3 separate regions of the Homo sapiens genome follow, and all the other regions are linked to region 1. The links are contacts of gene promoters, found by promoter capture Hi-C in human tissues and cell types (Jung and others, 2019). All regions are on one chromosome and are shown on one strand. Each heading gives the region's core, a stretch centred on a gene start or on the middle of the fragment in contact. The rest is flanking DNA. Distances are from core to core; before and after follow the strand shown. Region 1 holds the start of SLC22A1 (solute carrier family 22 member 1). Region 2 holds the start of LOC105378088 (a long non-coding RNA gene). Region 3 overlaps SLC22A2 (solute carrier family 22 member 2).

Region 1 (3,706 bases), core at 596-3,095:
GAATTTTTGGTTACTATAAGTCATTCATTTAAATGACTCAAAGCAAAAACCTTCAGTCACTAAGAGGGAAGACCTAATTTTCCAAACAATCTAACTTTTAACCATCGCACTCCTTTTTAAGAAGTCCTTTTAAGTCTCTTATTATCCAACTTTAGCCATGCCAAATGGCCAGTTGAATTCATGGAGGGGCAGAGAATATAGTGATTTTTTTATTGTTCCTGCAACCAGTTTGCACAGAGAGAGAAACCAAAAGTCTGACTGGTAAGAACTTTTACCCTTTCGCCAGCATGTCAGGCTGCTGAGCTCCCTTCCCCTCAGCTATGGAGCCCTATTGACCCTGGAGTCCTGTTGATCTCTTGTCCTTCCCTTCTTGTGTCAGTAGCTTATTCACAAAGAAAACAAAATCTTTCATTGCATGAAAATCTTGTTCAAGTGAAAGCCAAATTTTACCCTTACATTAGTCTATTAATGTCAACCCCAATTAAAAAAAATAAAACCTTACAGAGAAATCCATCCAATCTTAATCAGTTTGATCATGAACTGAGATTGTTATAAATCTTTTATAACCTTTTACAAATTTTTTTTGTTAAACAGCATGTAAGTGCTTCAAGAAAACCTTGTTGTGCTTGTATTCCATTGTTCAACTTATGGAAAACCAAATAATATCCTTTTTAGTGTAGTCAATATGTTTACACACAGGATTCCTTTTACAAGATTAATTTTTTACAAACCTTCCATAACTTGTTTGAACCTTAAGCTTTATCTTATATAATTTAAAACAATCATTTAACCCTCTGAACTAGGCAAAAATTTACATTCCCATGCCTTCTTATATTATTTTACTAATGATACATTTTACTCTCCTTACTCACCTCACGTGTAGATCTGTTTTCAGTAGTCATCACTACATGTTATAATGGTAGCTCTTAGTAATTGTTAATTTTGGTGAAATACCCAGTAAGTTATTTTAGTTACGTACTTAGGTGCAGATGAGGTCTAACTATTTCCAGCATAGCTAGGGCAGGCCCTACCAAACTGCAAAGCAGGAAAGTTGAACAATTTTCAAAAGCCAAAGCAGTTTATGACCTTAAAGCATTTAGTCAACCTAGTTTCTGACTTGCATAATTTAGACCATGTCTATATTTTGAAGACATTTCTATTTTCATTTTACTGATAATTTAAAAGACAGCCTATTTAGCAAAGTCATACTTAAGTGAATTTGAAAATTGCTTAGACTTATTTACTTAATTTATGAACACTCTTTTACTTATAAGCCAATTTGGTAGACACAACATATAACAGTAAGTGTACATACAAGTAAACACATCTAGACATGTATACACACACACAAATGAAGAGGTGGAGCTTAAAACACCCAAATTGGGTGCAGTGTATACTGCTTGGGAGATGGATGCACCAAAATCTCACAAATCACCACTAAAGAACCTGCTCATGTAACCAAATAATACCTGTTCCCTCAAAACCTATGGGAAAAAAAAACTAAAAAAAATACTTAAATGGTATCACAGAACTAATTAGCCGAATACAGTATCTAGTACCTGGCTGTCACCCAATACTTGCCTCATACCATCACATCTAGAAAACAAGTAGATATTCTTTTTGGAAGAGCCCTGAGGGAGCTACTAGGAGGTTTGCACGGCCTGCTCTCCTGCCCTCTTCTTGCTCTGTGGCTGAACTTCAATTCTCTTCGGGCTTAGACCCCACTGACTCGCTCCCGGGCAAAGCAAACGATTTGATCAGATGGCCACGTGCATTCTTCCTTTTCCTGAAACCAGCACCATAGGGTAAAAGATTATTTCTACTTGGTTGCCTTCCAGATGTTTCACACTTGGACAGCAAACTGATTTCAAACCACTCCTTTTCAAAGATCTCTGAGGGAGACATTGCACCTGGCCACTGCAGCCCAGAGCAGGTCTGGCCACGGCCATGAGCATGCTGAGCCATCATGCCCACCGTGGATGACATTCTGGAGCAGGTTGGGGAGTCTGGCTGGTTCCAGAAGCAAGCCTTCCTCATCTTATGCCTGCTGTCGGCTGCCTTTGCGCCCATCTGTGTGGGCATCGTCTTCCTGGGTTTCACACCTGACCACCACTGCCAGAGTCCTGGGGTGGCTGAGCTGAGCCAGCGCTGTGGCTGGAGCCCTGCGGAGGAGCTGAACTATACAGTGCCAGGCCTGGGGCCCGCGGGCGAGGCCTTCCTTGGCCAGTGCAGGCGCTATGAAGTGGACTGGAACCAGAGCGCCCTCAGCTGTGTAGACCCCCTGGCTAGCCTGGCCACCAACAGGAGCCACCTGCCGCTGGGTCCCTGCCAGGATGGCTGGGTGTATGACACGCCCGGCTCTTCCATCGTCACTGAGGTAAAAAAGCCTCTGTAACATGGGAGTTCCTGGGACAGGGAGAAATATAAAGCAAATCCTATGAAGTTCAGTTCCATATCAGGAAAGAGGTAGGGGGCTATGTTTATTGTGCAGTTCGTGGGTGTCTGGCTGTGTCCCAGGCACGGGGCATTCTCTTCTCTAGTTTAATCCACCACAAACTCTGGGTCTTTGAGGAGGAAGCTGAGGCAGGAGAGAACAGCTAGCACAAGTCGGGGGCCAGGTTGCCAGGTTGCTTGAATGGGAGTTGACTGGGAGACCAGGAGCCTCTCTGCCTGCCCCACTGGCTTCTCCCAGAACTATCAACTTGCTCTGGGTCCCGCTTCCCCACCAATAGTACTGTGGGCCCCCTCCTTCTGCTCAAGAGTGATGACGATTGACCTCAATGATGGTGTTGAGGTGGCCTGGAATTGCCCTGGCTTGGAAGTGAGAATATTTGGTGGAATCCCAGCTGTGCCCCTTATTAGCTGAGCATCACTGGGTAAGTCACTGCCTCTCTAAGCCTCATTTCCTCATCAGTCAACCAGGGATGATGACGGCTGCCTCATAGGGGTGTGAGCTTCAGCTGGGATCTGTGAAAGCACTGAGCAAATCCAAACTGAGTCACACCGTGCAGTCCGATGGGGCCCATGGGATAGGGCGATGGCCTCAAAAGGGCCTTGCTTGAGTAGTTTACTTGGTTATTTGAGCATTTTGCTTTGAGAATCCTTTAGTAAAAAGTGTCACCACATTTTTTTCCCATCATGAGCCCTTTTGAAACTATTGCACGGTAACAAGTGTGGATGCTTGGTGGGTTGGAGAAGCTGTGGGCCAAAGCCCGTCAGGGGCCTTCTGTTAGTAACGAGCAGTGGCGTGGTTTTGGTGCAGGCACTGCTTCCCTGAAATAAGAGGTAACTGGGCCCTCCCTGCCTCTGGTCCTGCCCACTTGTCTGCCCCCACTACCCTCGCCCAAGCTCTCCGGACTTCTTGGGTCTCTGTTCTTCCTCTTTTCCCTTTCCTGAGTGGTATCAGCGGTGACACATTTAGGGCTATTACTGGAGGAAAGCTTAGGGTCCCTCCCCTCTGGGCCTGAGCATTGCTCTACCTGCTTGCCTGGAGCAGAGCAGGTGCCGGTGCAACTGGCTTTACGATGCTGAAGAGACATCTTGTCTCCAAGGCATCCTCCAACAATGGATGACAAGTTAGGCAGCCCACCTTCCAGGGATCTCCAACCATCTGACATTCCCACTGGGAATCTAGAAGCAGACCAGGATGAGGATGTGTTTGCTCTCTGGGACTGAGACATACTCTGCTTTGAGGAGATCAGATGTG
Region 2 (3,706 bases), core at 303-2,802, 150 kb after region 1:
CTGACACAAAACTCCTAACCCCTGGCATTTCCTGGGTGGCAGGAGCGTCTTTTTTTCCTGGTGGACTCCTGCATGGGGGCTGGTCACCAGAAAGACCAAGCCATCTCCTCTGGGAAGAGAAGAGGGGCTGGAAATGGAGTTAATAATCAATGACACGTATGTGATGAAGCTGCCATAAAAATCCCTGAACTGCAGGGTGTGGAGAGCTTCTGGGTTGTTGGACATGGGGGAGTGCCTGGAGGGAGGGAAGGTTCCCTCTGTGCCCCATCCTCATGCTCTACCCTGTGCATCTCTCCATCTGGTGCTCATCTGTATCCTTTACAATATCCTTGATATTAGTAGTAAACTGGTAAATGTAAGTAAACTGTTCCCCGGAGTTCCATGAGATGCTTTAGCAAATGAATCAAACCTGAGGCGGAAGTCATGGGAACTCCTGATTTATAGCTGATTCATTGGAAGTTCTGGAGGTCCAGCCTTGCAATTGGCATCATACAGGCAGTTTTGTGGGACTGGGCCCTTAACTTGTGGATGGCAACTCCCAGTAGATACTGTCAGAATTGATGTGTGGGGAAAAACCCGGACATCTGGTCACAGAAGTGTTCTGTGCTGTGCTGAGAGCATAGGAGGGGAAATCAGTTTGCTTGTGTTTTCCTGCCACGTAACAGAGCCTCTTCTGGGAGAACCTAGGATTCTCTTCTTTCAAGCCTGATGGACACAAAGGACTTCATCTCCCTGGGTCCTTCCTTCTACACAGGATTTTCTTTTTAAGGCTTTTAAGCACAATCACCATGGAAAAAAAGGACAGAAGGTTACTGTTGGGTTCCCCCAAAATATATGTTGAAGTCCTAACCCCCAGCACTTCAGAGGTGACCCTGTTTGGAGACAGGGCTGTTACAGATGTAATTACTTGAGGTCCTGCTGGGGTAGGTGGGCCACTGGTCCGATGTGCCTGGTGTCCTTACAAGAAGAGAAGAGACATATGCACATGGCTGTGGAGATGCAGGCAGAGGCTGGAGCGCTGCAGCTGTGAGCTAGGGAACACCAGGGATCCACGTCCACCCCAGGAGCTGGGAGAGTCAAGGAAGCGTTCTCCCTTACAGATTTCAGAGGCGGCATGGCCCTGCTGACACCTTGGTACCAGACTTCTGGCCTCTAGAACCATGGGAGAATAAATTTCTGTTGGTTTCAGCCACCCAGTTTGCGGTCCTTTGTCACCACAGCCCTAGAAGCCAACACAACTATGGCAGGGGGTTCCAGAATCTAGTAGTAATTCTGTGATGTGCTTCACGGCAAGGTGGGGAGCATCTTTGCTGATCGGCTTCTCACTGAAATCTCCAGGCCCTCATAGTCTCACTCCTGTATTCCTAGGGACAAAGCATGCTATAGTCTGAATTTTGGTGTCCCTTGCCAAATTCATATGTTGGAAACTGATGCCCAATGTGATAGTATTAAGAGGTGGGGCCTCTGGGAAGTGATTAAGTCACAAGGACCCCACCCTCGTGAATGGGATTAGCGCCCTTATAAAGAGACTTGAGTGAGCTTCCTCGCCCTTGCTGCCATGTGAGAAGGCAGCAACAGGACACCATCTATGAAACCTCACAAGACCCTTAATCTGCTGGCATCTTGACCTTGGACTTTTGAGCCTTCTGAACTGCGAGCAATACATTTCTGTTGTTTATGAATTGGTCAGTTTAAGGTATTTTGTTACAGCAGCTCAAACGGATTAAGACAGAGCCCAACCAAACACCCGCTCCTTGGATCGCTCCCCTCCTTCCTTTTGTTGCCTCTCCCCTCATTAAGGAACGGGAAGGGAGAGATGAGGGATAAACAAGCGTGGTGACGGATTGGTCCTAGACTGATGCGGATGACGTATGCATCAGAGATTTCCTGGGCCTTGCTCTGACTTTGGTCTTCCAGCAGTGCGCAGGCCTGCTCTGCCCCGCTCTGCCCCGCTCTGCTGGCCTCAGCCTTCCTCATTCATCATTGTTCACCTCACTCCCATCCACCTTCTTCCCTTTTTCCCAAACCTATCCTGATGAGAAGTTTGAATTCTGTTTTAAGGAAAGACCTTCCAATGCAGTGTGGAGTGAGGGCCATTCCCACATACATACACACTCCATACTCTTTTGAAGCGATTTTGTGAATTACAAAACCACCATAATTTTCAGGAGTAGTGGCATGTCTTAGTAGGAAATGTTGAATGGAATCACAAAAAGCTTGAGAATAAGAAAAATAAAAAGATAGGATGTGCTGACATTTTTGAAAGCCCTAAAATAATTTGGTGCCCATAGTGGGAACCTTGTCATACTTATTTACATAGTATGGAAGGCTATTTGACAAAAAAATCAAATGAGGTATAGGAATAGTAACTCATTATAAATTGGGGACAATAAAGCCAAATTCCACTGGATTTTAAAGTTATACAAATGATTCTCTAGTCCCTAAATTAGGGATATAAAAGTCCGTAGGCAGCTTTGGGGCTGAAAGGGGTTCTGTAAGCATCTTGCTGTATAATGGAGCAAGTCCTGACCCAGAAAAGAATCTGTACTTTGTCCCAGATGGGCTATAACTTGCTCTGTGACTGCCATCATGTGTGTTCTGGCAGAGATTCATAGGCAGGCAGAGGAGTGGGGAAGCTTCATAGCAGAAAAGGGAAGGTGTCAGGTGTGTGCTGACTGGAGGCTGCTGGCCGGGGAAGCTGGAACGAAGTGGGCTATCCAGAGGTGGTGTATCCATCCTCTGTAGTTGGTTAGGGCACTTAGTTCACTCTCTCCAGTTGGGGTTGATTGTAGAGTTCTAACTTTTTACGTGGTCTGGCCATTGTCCATGTGTATATTCAGTCTCTCCCAAGCTAGTCATCTGGTAAGTGACCAATAAGCTTTAGTTACTCAATACAAAGAAACCAAACCAGCATTAGATGGGGAGGAGAGTTCCATCTAGAGATCTAACACTGTGATAGTGGAAGCAGTCCCAAAGAATGATAGCCTATGATACCATGCTTGGGGGTGTGGCCTTCCGGTCTCATCAGAAAAAGTACAGAGCTCAGAGCAGAATCACATGGAAGCAGCTCTCCCCTAGACTCTCCTAGATGTTAGGTCTCTGAGATCATAGTAATGCAGTCAGCAATGAAACCTACCTGGTTAATTAGAGAAACACAGCTCCATCAATGTAAGAGAGAAGTCTGGTAAGCCTTCTTATGGAAAATTCTTTACCTATTTTCCCTTCAAATATTGTTTCTGCTCCATTCTCTCAACTTTCTCTCAACTGGAATCTTTCCATAAATAAGTTGGAGCTTTTCATTCTTTTCTCCATTTCTTTTCACTTTTTGTCTATATTTTCTATCTCTTTAGTTCTCTGGGTCAAAGTCTATTTTGTGTTCTCAGATGTAGTTTCGGCTCACTAGTTTTCCCTTCTGTTGCGTTTGGCTTACAGTCTAACTTGTCTGTGGCATTTTATTTTAATGGCTGAATTTGTACTTATGGTGTTTTTTCAGTCAATCTCCTTGTTCTTTTTAAATGTGATTTTGCATTCTTATATTACACATTAAATACTTCCTTTATATGTTCAAACTTTGAAAACAGACCCACTTAAAATATTTTTCACATTCCCTTATTTTTCTGTTCCTGGGAGTGAGTTACCCCCAACTCTTAGCTTTATTTGGGGAAGTCAGTTTCAGCTTCTCATCACATACAGGCTTGAGGCCACA
Region 3 (3,706 bases), core at 869-3,368, 130 kb after region 1:
CCCAATACTGTTATTTTCGCCATGTCCTGGTTTGCTTGTAAAAGACACCCTAATCCACTTAGTGGATATTTAAAAAAATTCTTCACAGAAAACAATGTTTATTTAATCTTTGTCTTTCCACTTCAATTGGAAGGATGGCTTTTTGTTATCAGGATTGCTCCTTTTAATGGTGGATAAACATTGTTTAATTGATGCTTTTATTATTATGCAACTATATTCTAGTGAAGGTGTCAAATACTAACCATTTCAAAATAATCCACATTATTAATAATTATTTTGGAAGAGTAATATTTTAAATATGAAATTTTAAGGTTAAGCAGTTACATTGGTAATTAGTATTAACTAGTAAATTTCTTAAGTCTTAAAACTCTGTTTTGACCATGTAATTTCATTTTTAAAAATTTTTATTTTTAGTTCTGGGGTACATGTGCAGGATGTGCAGGTTTGTCACATAGGGAAATGTGTGCCATTGTGGTTTGCTGTACCTATCAACCCATCACCTAGGTAACGATGTAATTTCTTAATTCTCAGTCAATGGCTCCCTGCTGTAAATATACAACCTCTTGGCCTCTAATTCAAAGCCTTCCAAAGTCATATCTCAACTTAATTTTTTAGCATTTCTTCCCACATTTTCCTACCCAAACCCCTTCCTTTACCCTCAAAGAGTATATAATCTATAAACATTGACTCAAATGGTACTTCTTCAACTTTCAAAACTGCTTCAGGCACACAGTAGAACACCACAGTAGTGCCCCATGTAGATGGACAAAATCTTTTAGGTGATGAGAGGGAATATTCATCATCTGAAACTCAGAGCAAGAAAATCAAATCCATGATGTGGAAAAACTTCACTGGAGACATGTTCCACATAGGGAAGCAATGCTACTTAAAAGAATAATAAGGCATGGCTAGAATAAATTTGGGGAATCTGGGATAGAGGTCTGAGACTCCTCCTACCCCTCAGCAGGGCTATTTAAATGGTTAAATGGAAAACAATCAGAAGAAACAGGACAGGAAGGGTGGACTCCCCATACTGCTGGCTTGGTAAGTCTTTTAGCTACTTGTGACTCAGAATGTGGCTGAGGACTATTAGCATGGGCTTGGGAACAGCATCACCTGGGAGCTGGTTAGAAATACAGAATTTTGGGCCCACCCAGATCTGCTGGATCAGAATCTGAATTTTAGCAAGATCCCCAGGAGATTTATATGCAACTTAGCATTTGGGAAGCAGTGCTTTAATTTCACAGAGCCTCGGTTTCTTCATCCATTGTAAATTATGGATAATGAAATCTACTTTAAAAGGCTCTCGTGATCCTAAATGAAATATAACAAATGAGGATGCCCAGTAAAGTGACTAGCACACAGTAATCAGTGGTGAACGTGTTTTGGAAGATCCCATATAGTTGGGTAAGTATGACTGCAACCCACTGGGACTTTAGTTCTGCTTTTGATGCAGGACAGGCAAGCACCAAAATTGGGGCTTAGCCTGGGAGGGTTCTTGGCTTTGCCCAGGAAAGAATTCAAGGGCAAGCTGGTGTTGTTAAATAGCCATTTTTATTGAAGCTGCAATGTATAGCAGCAGCACCTCTGTTCCTTGTGGAGCAGGGATATTCCATAGGCAGTGTGCCTGGAATAGCAGCTCAGAGGAGTCTGTTCTGTACTCATATTTATTTTTAATTATATGCAAATTAATTTAAATTATAAATTTGATTATATGCAACCCACGTTTAATTATATGCAAATTAAGGGGTGGCTTATGCAGAAATTTCTAGGAAAAGGGTGGTAACTTCTGGGTTGTAGAGTCATTGCCATTAAAAGGGGCTGGAGATTGCCATGTTGCCATGGCAATAGTAAACCGACATGGTGCACTGGTGGTCATGTCTTATGGAAAGCTGCTCCTGCCTGGGACCTGTTTTAGCTAGTCCTCAGTTTGGTCTGGTGTCCAAGCCCCGCCTCCAGAGTCAAGTCCCTCCTCCTAGCTCACTTTGATCTAGTTCCATCACAACACATAAAAGTAGGGTGCTGGCTCTTAAGAGCTAATGATCAGACTTACAGAAAATTTGCAAGCTAATTGTTAGCATAACCATTATTAAAAATTAAATTATATACATTTACAACTAAATTATATTGAAAGCAAGTGTAATATGCAAAACATCACTTTCCAATGATTTTACTATATTTGGCCATCTGTGCTTGTGAGGTTATTTACATCTACTGTATCTGCATGGTGGAAATGCTGTGTAATGGTGCACACTTCTAGCCAACTCTATGTCCTGTGATGTCATTTTTGTAGGCTGAAGTGAACCACAGTGGGTATATTTACACCAGAGCAATCAATAAACACTACAAACTGGGGCTTTCCCTCCCAGAGAACTAGTTGTTAAGCATTCACAAGCATGACACAGTAAATATAGCACTTATGGCCACATGCAGTGGCTCATGCCTATAATCCCAGCACTTTGGGAGGTCAAGGAGGGCAGATCACCTAAGGTCAGTAGTTCGAGATCAACCTGGCCAACATGGTGAAACCCTGTCTCTACTAAAAATACAAAAATTAGCTGGGCATGGTGGTAGGCGCCTGTAATCCCAGCTACTCAGGAGGCTGAGGCAGGAGAATTGCTTGAACCCAGGAGGCAGAGGCTGCAGTGAGCCAAGATTGCACCACTGCACTCTAGCCTGGGCGATAGAGTGAGACTCTGTCTCAAAAAATAAAAAAAATAAAAAATATAGTACTTATAATTGCTGCTTGTTAAAATTAAAAAAACCCTGGGATTGGTGAGGAATTGCTTTTTTGTCTCAGGTGACACTCAAAATCATTGATGAGGAAGTTATGGGTTATACTTGGGTCCACTCTTAGTCTTATTTACAATCTTTTCATAATGCCTTACTGTTTTTTTAAAAAATTATTCATGGAAGACAATGTGTTTTATTTAAAGTTGGCTTAATCTGTGAATACAATGGGGATCCATGACATTCTTGTCCTATTGTATAAAATCTGGAAATTGTAGGCATTAACTATACAAAAAACAAATTGCTTTCTCATTTCTTTAGGCTAGGCTTCTCACTCCTGCATGCAGGCACAGAACAGAAGAAGGGCAATGACCGGCCAAGCTTCAGATGGTGTAAGAAAAAGAAGTCGAGGCATGGAGACAGCCTTTGGGGGAAGAATAATGAGTACTTACCTTGACAGAGGGGATTTCAACAATAGGAACAAAATAATGAGATCATCTAAGAAGGTGGATAATTGACCAGGGCTTATAACACAGGAATGCACTGTCAGTAGGGATTTATGACCAATCTCCTACTTGTTGAGTGGGATGTGAATAATTAACTAATTTCTTAACCCACTGAGCAAGGGTTAAAGATTGAGTCACCTGTTTACTCACAGCCTGTCAGGGAGTGAGTGTTAGCACCTCTACCTGGTGGCGGAGGAGGGAGTGCAGAGAGAGTGAATGCCTGCAGGGCCAGAGCTGCCCAGGGGTGCAAGGTGGACTCCGGACCTCCCCTTGTTAATGTGTCTCTCCTGATTTAATGCGTCATCTTTAAAGAATCATCCTCAATTCTGCAGCAATAAAAATAAAAACCTTCCCTTTCACCTTGCAAGCCTCCCGCAGAAAGCCCCAGGAAGAGCCTTGTCAGGGCAGCTGAGGAGACAATTAATAACCATGGGTGATGGATGAGGTGCACGTGGCCTGTGCCTCCACTT

What was found. The method cuts DNA at HindIII sites, captures the fragments that hold promoters and counts their contacts. A contact is called where the count stands out against the background at its distance.
Region 2: a fragment that was not itself captured here is called in contact with the fragment with the promoter of SLC22A1 in region 1 in 1 of the 25 tissues and cell types used here (liver).
Region 3: a fragment that was not itself captured here is called in contact with the fragment with the promoter of SLC22A1 in region 1 in 1 of the 25 tissues and cell types used here (liver).

The regions. Positions count from the first base shown.
Region 1 is chr6:160,119,970-160,123,675 of GRCh38, forward strand. It overlaps SLC22A1 (solute carrier family 22 member 1), which reads left to right and starts at 1,846. Exons shown (of 11, transcript NM_003057.3): 1 at 1,846-2,377. The coding sequence starts at 1,967. LOC124901452 (a long non-coding RNA gene) reads right to left here and starts at 1,726. Exons shown (of 2, transcript XR_007059842.1): 1 at 873-1,726. The HindIII fragment of the contact is 5,449 bases long and covers 104-3,706 here.
Region 2 is chr6:160,269,530-160,273,235 of GRCh38, forward strand. It overlaps LOC105378088 (a long non-coding RNA gene), which reads left to right and starts at 3,050. Exons shown (of 2, transcript XR_001744437.2): 1 at 3,050-3,184. The HindIII fragment of the contact is 6,937 bases long and covers 1-3,706 here.
Region 3 is chr6:160,251,575-160,255,280 of GRCh38, forward strand. All of the region lies in intron 2 of SLC22A2 (solute carrier family 22 member 2), which reads right to left. Among named protein-coding and RNA genes, the nearest start is that of SLC22A2, 5.4 kb to the right of the region's middle. The HindIII fragment of the contact is 3,650 bases long and covers 294-3,706 here.